Regions from separate parts of the Homo sapiens genome. Here region 1 is linked to region 2. Evidence: promoter capture Hi-C in human tissues and cell types (Jung and others, 2019). All regions are on one chromosome and are shown on one strand. The core of a region is centred on a gene start or on the middle of the fragment in contact, and the rest is flanking DNA. Distances in the headings are between cores, read along the strand shown. Region 1 has its middle 20 kb from the start of LINC01925. Region 2 holds the start of YES1 (YES proto-oncogene 1, Src family tyrosine kinase).

Region 1 (4,848 bases), core at 2,187-4,686, 280 kb after region 2:
CATATTTAGCGCTTCCTTCAGGAGCTCTTTTAGGGCAGGCCTGGTGGTGACAAAATCTCTCAGCATTTGCTTGTCTATAAAGTATTTTATTTCTCCTTCACTTATGAAGCTTAGTTTGGCTGGATATGAAATTCTGGGTTGAAAATTCTTTTCTTTATGAATGTTGAATATTGGCCCCCACTCTCTTCTGGCTTGTAGGGTTTCTGCCGAGAGATCCGCTGTTAGTCTGATGGGCTTTCCTTTGAGGGTAACCCGACCTTTCTCTCTGGCTGCCCTTAACATTTTTTCCTTCATTTCAACTTTAAATCTGACAATTATGTGTCTTGGAGTTGCTCTTCTCGAGGAGTATCTTTGTGGCGTTCTCTGTATTTCCTGAATCTGAACGTTGGCCTGCCTTGCTAGATTGGGGAAGTTCTCCTGGATAATATTCTGCAGAGTGTTTTCCAACTTGGTTCCATTCTCCACATCACTTTCAGGTGCACCAATCAGACGTAGATTTGGTCTTTTCACATAGTCCCATATTTCTTGGAGGCTTTGCTCATTTCTTTTTATTCTTTTTTCTCTAAACTTCCCTTCTCGCTTCATTTCATTCATTTCATCTTCCATCGCTGATACCCTTTCTTCCAGTTGATCGCATCGGCTCCTGAGGCTTCTGCATTCTTCACGTAGTTCTCGAGCCTTGGTTTTCAGCTCCATCAGCTCCTTTAAGCACTTCTCTGTATTGGTTATTCTAGTTATACATTCTTCTAAATTTTTTTCAAAGTTTTCAACTTCTTTGCCTTTGGTTTGAATGTCCTCCCGTAGCTCAGAGTAATTTGATCGTCTGAAGCCTTCTTCTCTCAGCTCGTCAAAATCATTCTCCATCCAGCTTTGTTCCGTTGCTGGTGAGGAACTGCGTTCCTTTGGAGGAGGAGAGGCGCTCTGTGTTTTAGAGTTTCCAGTTTTTCTGTTCTGTTTTTTCCCCATCTTTGTGGTTTTATCTACTTTTGGTCTTTGATGATGGTGATGTACAGATGGTTTTTCAGTGTGGATGTCCTTTCTGGTTGTTAGTTTTCCTTCTAACAGACAGGACCCTCAGCTGCAGATCTGTTGGAATACCCTGCCGTGTGAGGTGTCAGTGTGCCCCTGCTGGGGGGTGCCTCCCAGTTAGGCTGCTCAGGGGTCAGGGGTCAGGCACCCACTTGAGGAGGCAGTCTGCCCATTCTCAGATCTCCAGCTGCGTGCTGGGAGAACCACTGCTCTCTTCAAAGCTGTCAGACAGGGACACTTAAGTCTGCAGAGGTTACTGCTGTCTTTTTGTTTGTCTGTGCCCTGCCCCCAGAGGTGGAGCCTACAGAGGCAGGCAGGCCTCCTTGAGCTGTGGTGGGCTGCACCCAGTTGGAGCTTCCCAGCTGCTTTGTTTACCTAATCAAGCCTGGGCAATGGCGGGCGCCCCTCCCCCAGCCTCGTTGCCGCCTTGCAGTTTGATCTCAGACTGCTGTGCTAGCAATCAGCGAGACTCCGTGGGCGTGGGACCCTCCGAGCCAGGTGTGGGATATAGTCTCGTGGTGCGCCGTTTTTTAAGCCGGTCTGAAAAGCGCAATATTCGGGTGGGAGTGACCCGATTTTCCAGGTGCGTCCGTCACCCCTTTCTTTGACTCGGAAAGGGAACTCCCTGACCCCTTGCGCTTCCCGAGTGAGGCAATGCCTCGCCCTGCTTCGGCTCGTGCACGGTGCGCGCACCCACTGACCTGCGCCCACTGTCTGGCACTCCCTAGTGAGATGAACCGCGTACCTCAGATGGAAATGCAGAAATCACCGTCTTCTGCGTCGCTCACGCTGGGAGCTGTAGACCGGAGCTGTTCCTATTCGGCCATCTTGGCTCCTCCTCTGTTTGTTTGTTTTTTTGAGACAGAGTCTTGCTCTGTCACCCAGGCTGGAGTGCAGTGGTATGACCTCTGCTCACTGCAACCTCCACCCCCCAGGTTCAAGCAATTCTCCTGCCTCAGCCTCCCGAGTAGCTGGGATTACAGGCACATGCCACCATGCTTGGCTAATTTTTGTATTCTTAGTAGAGACGGGGTTTCACCATGTTGTCCAGGCTGGTCTCAAACTCTTGACCTTTTGATCCACCCCATGCCTCGGCCTCCCAAAGTGCTGGGATTACAGGTGTGAGCCACTGCACCCAGCCCTGTAACTAGGTTATTTATAGTAACTTCTCAAAATTACTTTTAGAAAGCTTGAGAGACAAGTTTCTTTCACTATAAATGAAAATTAAAACGTTTATAAGGTTGTTCCTAAGGAAGATGTTTAAAACTTTTTTCTAAAACATGAATAAAACGTCAGGGATTCTCAACCTGGGCAACATAGTGAGACCCTATCTCTACAAAAACTAAAAATGAAAATAAAAATTAGCCGGGAGTGGTGGCACATGCATGTAGTCCTAGCTACGCAGGAGGCTGAGGCGGGAGGATTGCTTGAGCTTGGGAGGTCGAGGCTGCAATGAGCCATGAAGGCACCACTGCACTCCAGCCTTGGCGACAGAGTGAGACTCTATCTTTTAAAATAACAAAAAACAGGCCAGGCATGGTGGCTCATGTCTGTAATCCCAGCACTTTGGGAGGCTGAGGTGGGTGGATCACCTGAGGTCAGGAGTTCGAGACCAGCCTGGCCAACATGGCAAAACCCTGTCTCTACTAAAAATTCAAAAATTAGCCGGACATGGTGGTGGGTACCTGTAATCCCAGCTACTCAGGAGGCTGAGGCAGGAGAATCACTTGAACCTGGGAGGCAAAGGTTGCAGTGAGCCAAGATTGCGCCATTGCACTCCAGCCTGGGCAACAAGAGTGAAACTTCGTCTCAAAAGGAAAAGAAAAAAAAAAAAAACAGGGAGTCATTTAAATTTCAGTTGGCCAATTATAAAATTTTTCTTCTAATTATTCGCTTTTGGACAATCTTTATGGATAAAAGAAAGTTATTAGGAATACTAAAGCTAATGGAACTAGTAATAGATAACATGCCTGGTGTATACATTAACAATCATTTAATGTTAATATTGTTAAGATTTTTATTAGTTATCTTTAAGTCTTTAGTAACAAGGAACTGAGTTGCCGGTAACTAATCTCATGACTGGATGGGACCCAAAACAAATAAAAGGTAAAAATAAGCAAGCCAACACAAGAGACGAAATGCTCTTGTATAATTCCCAGTAAGTCTCAACCTCAGGCTCTTCTAAAGCAGGAAAGAAGTTGAGTTACTTCCCTCTCACATAACCCTGTGTTCTTTTCTCAATTTTGGAAAATAAGTGGCTTCAATCATTCACTTTAAGTTAAATGTGCTCATCCCTTCAGTAAATGTTTATCTTGGACTCCAAGGAACAGATTGCTGAAGTAGGTGCCAGGTGAGCAGAGAGGGGACCAGCTTCATCCTTGCCTTTGGGCAGCTCATTCTCCAGGAGGGAAGACTGAAACGTACACTAGCACCTCATCCACCAGATTGCGAGCTTTAACCGAGATATAAGTGTCTTTTTTTTTTTTCTGAGAGAAGGTCTGGCTTTGTTACCCAGGCTGCAGTGCAGTGGCACGATTATAGCTCAGTGCAGCCTCAACCTCCCAAACTCAAACAATCCTCCCACCTCAGCCTCCTAAGTAGCTGGGACTACGGCATGTGCCACCACGCCCAGCTTGAATCTGTCTTAGGCCATCTTTGCCTAGCACATGACTAGCACAGTGGACATAACTCAGTGTTCAATAAACATTCCATAACTGACTAATTAAATAAATGCATGCTCATGAGTGGGGTACTAATCAGCTTCTCTTTTTCTCATAAATAAGAGCTCCCTTTAGACAGCACCAATCAAAATATTGAACAAACAGCTTTCCGGGGAAAAGGTGTTTTGGAGGAAACCATACAGGTCTATATGTCAGCCTACATCAATCTGATCTTCTATACTCCAACTTTTTCATATTGTCTTCAAATAGGAAAGGAGTCATAACTAATGACTTAGATGTTACTGAGGTTTTCTGTTAGTAACATAAAAAATCTGAGACAACCTTAATTCAACAACTCAGGATTGGCTACAGACAATACAGGGCACACCTACGGTGGAATCCTATGCACCTACTACAAATCCCATTATGGAAATAGATTTGTGGGTGTGGAAACATTTATGATATGTATAGCACTAAGTGGAAAAAACGCATGTTACAACCTAGGTCTCCTAACAGCTTTGAGTATCATTTGAATGCTATCACAATTGTGGATCTCAAGGAATCATGGACTCTGACAGATATTTCATGTCTTTGTTGGTGTTCCTGCCCTAGACTGCAACTGCTCGCTCTATCCTGAGTTTCAGGATGAGATTGATGATAAAACAGATGAAATACTTAGGCCCTAAAGACAGAGTACTAAATTTAAGAGGAGACTTTGGGTGAATGTATCCAGACTGGCCATGATGCTTCCAGGCTGAGCCAGGAAGCACCATCTGAGCAAATAGACTCTCCCAGAATCATTTTATGGCATTAACTTCACACTTAGGAGTTTATTACTTGAACCAGATCATTTCTGTTGCCATGCATAAATTTGTGTGTGCACCTTTGACCCTAAAATACAAGTGTGAGCATGCAATGGAAGACAGCAGTTGGCCCAAGACTCCAGAGTTCAAGCCCTGCCTCTGCCACTTAATAGACAGGTGGCCCAATGGAAGACACTCACTTTCTTAGCCTTATTGTTTGTATAAGTAATAATAGGAGTCATACATAGCCAGCTGGCCTAATGCCTAGGCTGAGTCCCATATGGGAAAGTGTGCTTCTACAGTGCAGACTTTATACATGTCTAAGGTGTTACTGTCATCAGATGGTGGTGGAGAAT
Region 2 (4,919 bases), core at 1,137-3,636:
TGAGTGGGCCCTAGTTCAACTTTCAGCTTTTCAAACTTCCAGCCAAATAATTTTAAGCATTAATCAACTTACATAAATGAAAGCATTTTACTTTTATAGGGACCTAACATATCTCATAAAGTTTGTTTGTTTAAAGCTTTCCCCTAGCTTTTTCCTCCAGCAGACATTTCCAGGGGTTTCAAGACTTAAGTTCCTTATCACTCCCTAACACACATGTACATACCACACCTCTATGCTGTGCAGGAGGGAAAAGTAGGGGCAAGCTTATTTGTCCGTTTCAGGATGAACAGATTAAAAGCAATTTTTGTTACACCAAACTCAGTAAGACTTTCCAGTTTTCTCTTCCTCATTAAAAAATTTTTTAAAAAATATTCCTGGAAACAAGTGAGCCACTAAATGTAAGATTGAAAACTTTCCAGGTTATTTACAGACTGAAGTTTGACATTGATGAATATACTAAAAAAGAAATCAGGGAATGTAGTAATAAAAAAAAAAAGGGAGGGCGAAGAGAAGCAAACTCAGTAAGTCAATGTAATCCATAACTTGTAGGTGACATTCTGACATACTCTCCCAACTTTAAAACTCCATATAGAACATCTTCAAAGCCACCTTACCCCTTAAACTGGGGCAAACTACTATTTCATTTCATTATTATTTTTTAAAATATATTTTACTAAATAGATAGGAGGTCTCCCATGTTGCCCAGGCTGGTCTCCAACTCCTAGACTCAAGTGATCCTCCTGTCTTGGACTCCCAGAATGCTGGGGTTACACGTGTGAGCCACTGTGCCCGGCCTATTTTAGAGGTGATTTTTGAGACTGAGTGTTTAGGAAGACGAAATTATCTCTATTTAGTGAAGAAAGGCAACAGCTCAAGGAATTTTCTATTTTAATAAAAGCTGAATATAGACCTACATAAAATTTTAAAGCCCTGAGACAGTCAATGACAAATGAAGTTTTAGTAGCTAAGAAAATACAGCATCGTTCCACATTATGTGTCTCTTTAACGCCTACGCCTACCTTTCGTTCATTTAGTGAGCTGAAGAAAAAAATGTTCAAACCCTTATATGCATTTCCTTAAGTTCCTAGAATACCGGAATACTGACACATATGATTGCACTATTTCCTATCCGTCGAAGATGATTCTGAATTTCACTAAAAACCGCAAAGGAAACCAATAGTCACAAAATAATTCTGATAACCCCACCAAAGAGGAAATAAAGAGAGGAAGTTACTCTAAAAGTCTGATAGGGCAAAAGTGACTGCAGCAGAAGGGCCTCAAGGTTCAGTCCATGAGGACCTTGATTAACCTTCATCTTTACGCCCCCACCCCATCCTTCCGGGTCCTCCCCCTTCTTCAACGACTGGCTTTACAAGGCTCATAGGAAAGGTGCGTGTATTCAGACGGACACGATTCCAGCTGTGGCTCCTCCACTTTCAGGGTCGCTGTTTCCACAGTTGACAAGCAGGAGAACCATACTTGTTGCACTTCCCTCACTGGGCTGCCGCCAGCATCATATAGAAAAACGCTGTCCCAACATAAGCCAAAGCCACCATGACTGGGATAGTCGCCAAACAGAACTCAGCTTCGGTTCCCCTCCCGGCAAGGCTGGTTCGACCTACAGTCAACAGGAAGCTCCTGGGGGCAGGGACAGGATCCCTGCCTCGGAAGGAGGCAAGACGTGAACGTTTTTTGGACGGCGATCAGGATGGTGATGAGGGTGTGAGTAACGCCCCCGGCTCACGCGGTTGGGCTTGAGATTTTACTACCAACGACAAAGGGTGCGGAAGCGTAGCGCTGAGAAGCAAACAGCCAACCAAAAAAACTCAACCCCGTCCTCCCCCACAAAAGCAAGCCCCAAAGCCCTGGCCACTACTGAGAGCTGGGCCAAGGAACAGAGAAAGGCAGAGGGGCAGAATCGGAGCGCTCCATTCAATCTCCGCGGCAGCCGAGCGTCGGTGGGTTCGCGGGTGGGAAGGGACGCCGCGGGCCTGCTCTCCGGGCAGGGAAGCACCTCCTCCTCACGCCCCCTCGGCCTGCACCGCCCCCGGGAATCCGCCCCGGACCCCGCCGCCATGTTGGGTCGGGAGAAGTGACACGGACCGGTCGCCTATCCTGACCACAGCAAAGCGGCCCGGAGCCCGCGGAGGGGACCTGACGGGGGCGTAGGCGCCGGAAGGCTGGGGGCCCCGGAGCCGGGCCGGCGTGGCCCGAGTTCCGGTGAGCGGACGGCGGCGCGCGCAGGTACCCGCAGCCCCCGCCCCCGCTAGAAGTCAGGGGGCGGGGCCGGGGGGGGGGGGCGGAGGAGGTGGAGAGTGAGGCCGAGGCGTGGGGAGCCCGGGAACTCCCTCCTCCTGAAGTAACGCGTCCCGGGCCGGCTCTGCCGTCGTTGCTGCCGCCGGGCGCCCCGGGACGAGGAGGTGGAGGAGGGAGAGGGCCCGCGGGCCTCGCCTCCGCCCTCCGCCACCTCGAGCTGCGGTAGCAGCGACTCATGAGAGCGCGGCCGGAGGACAGGTAAGGACCCGGTGGGGCCCCGCGGGCGGAGGGTTCCACCTCTGCCCGGACAGGGCTAGGCCCCAGCGCCCGGAGCCGCCGCCGCCGCCGCCGCCGCGGTTCCCCGCCCCCGCGGGCCCGAGTCGGGAAGTTGGGAAGAAACTTCTCCCCTCCCCCGGATCGCCCGGCGGGCTTGTCTCGTTCCCCGCGCTACCTGCTCGCCCCTGACTCGGTCTCTGCCCTGTCCAGACCTGCCGGGTCCCGCCCAAGTCCGACCTGAGGTTCCAGGGGCGTGGGGACACTCCCCACCCCTTGTCTTTGGGGTCGTGTGGACCGCCCGGCGACGGGGAGGAGAGGTTTATTTTTGCCCCTACGGCCGAAGTAGGGGCGAGGGAAGCGGCCCCTTTGGGTCCTAAAGGCTGGGGGTCTGTGTATCGGCCGACGCCGGTAGCAGCTGTGCGGGGAGAGGAGCGGGTGTGTGGGGCGAGTGGATGAGCCTTTCTGGCTTTACTTGGTTTGATTGAAAACCGCAACATGTTTAAAGTTTTCCTTTGTTTTGGGTTGGGGGTTGGGAAATTTACCATTCAGCGTCCACTTTTACGGAATCATGCCACTCCGCCTCCCGTTGCGTTCGGTTCCCTGTCCACATGTGTTAAAGAAAATTGTCTTAAAGTGTGTTTTTCTTCTTGATAATTGCTTCCAGCTTTCACTTTATTGGGCATGGGGCAGAGCTGTTTTAAGAAGCTCTTTGAAAATCAAGTCTGGTGTAGGGACTTTAGTTTTTGTTTTGTAATGAGTAGGACTTAACAGTTCGGATTTGGTTGAATCATTTTCTGCATAATTAATTGATACAGGCGTGGAATAACATACTGTATAATTATAAATTACTAAAGGAAATAATGAAAGTCTTTGGTGGAAGCACAATTTTATGTCCATTTATTATGTATATACGTTCCACGGGTGTGTGTTTTCACAGTCGATTTCACATGATATGATTATAGTATCTTCATGTATTATAACTGTAAGATTACAGTGCCAAAGATACCTTGATAATTTTAAATATTTAAACCATCCTGTTACACTTCTAAAGTTAAATTACGCACTAAGGAAAGTATTACTAAATGTATACACGTGACTGTGCATTTAAGGAAAAGTGCATGGTAAATCTAATATCTTAACTATCACAGTGCTTGGCACACGGTGGACAGGAAGCATTTTGAATGGTCAGGTAATAAAGGAGTATCTTGTATTAGCCAAGGATCTTGTATGCATCACTTACGATGTTCATATATTGTACAGTAAGAAAGTTTTACTTTAGCAAATAATATATATGGTTTTTTGGTTTTTGTTTGTTTGCTTATAAGTGTGAGACCCCTGCCACAATTGACATGTAAGGAAAGGAAGTTAAATTGTATTTTTATTTTTGGACATTAGCTAAAAGTCGGTGGAGATTTTAAATGCTGGTTGACAATTCAGAGGGTCCTACATTTGAAAAAGACAATTGCCTTTGATCTGAAAACAAAACAGTTTATATCCATGTTTCCAGGATAAAAGATAAAAGGGCTCTTAAAATATATACTCTGTTGTAACCACTGTAATGTTATAATGGCTTTAATTTCGTAGTTAGGTTTTGCTGACTTCATAAACCACAAAATTGATTCCTTTCTGTTCATCTGAAAGTGAAATTACAGCTTTGACCTGTCTTCCTGGGTTAGGTGGAATTTGTCTTGTGGTCGAAGTATAATATTAATACATGGGCTGTTTTTGTGTGTGTGTTTTAGTTCAGGAAATTCACAAGCTGAAAAATTAATGTCTATGCAAGTAAAATTTCTTCATGGTATGTATTGATAAAAGAATAAATGTGCTAAAAGACTAGAAGTAAACCTGTATAAGTGAAATATTACCAACCGATGGTGTAAGACTTACTTATTCAAAGTTGAAATTTGCATCATGTTAGACAGTAAATGATTTACTACTATGGCTAGTTTTTCTTTACAAAATCAGTGTAGACATCGTTTATTCTATTAGCATTATAGTAAGAAAGAAGACTAATGCCAAAACAATTTTTTAAGTGATGCTAAGCGCTGGGGTCACCCAAACTTGGGTAATTAAAAAAAAAAAAAAACCTGCAAGGAAATTCTGTGAACGTAAAAATAGAAGCATAGAATACCTGTGGTTCTATGAAGGGAAATATATGGGAAGAGGGAGGAGATTGTGATAGGGACCTGGCTTCTGAAGTGGTGACAAAGTTCTTTTAACCTGGTAGGAGTTACCAAGGGTATTGGTCTTAGTGTAATTCATTAAGCCCTACGTTTGTGTGCAGAATCTGTTTCTATGTTTTATTTTACATGAATTTGTTGTTGTTTTTTTAAGGAATCCAGTGTGTAATGTCTATATAAGGTGCTTGGTTTAAGAACATAACTTGG

Evidence for each region. Contacts are between HindIII fragments. The study calls those that stand out against the background at their distance.
Region 1: a contact is called between a fragment that was not itself captured here and the fragment with the promoter of YES1 in region 2, in 1 of the 25 tissues and cell types used here (H1 embryonic stem cells).

The regions. Positions count from the first base shown.
Region 1 is chr18:532,724-537,571 of GRCh38, reverse strand. No RefSeq gene overlaps it. Among named protein-coding and RNA genes, the nearest start is that of LINC01925, 20 kb to the right of the region's middle. RefSeq lists an enhancer at 978-1,631. The HindIII fragment of the contact is 4,543 bases long and covers 1,165-4,848 here.
Region 2 is chr18:809,709-814,627 of GRCh38, reverse strand. It overlaps YES1 (YES proto-oncogene 1, Src family tyrosine kinase), which reads left to right and starts at 2,386. Exons shown (of 12, transcript NM_005433.4): 1 at 2,386-2,514. RefSeq lists enhancers at 1,184-1,725, 1,726-2,268 and silencers at 2,000-2,509, 2,560-2,619, 2,690-2,779. The HindIII fragment of the contact is 17,179 bases long and covers 1-4,919 here.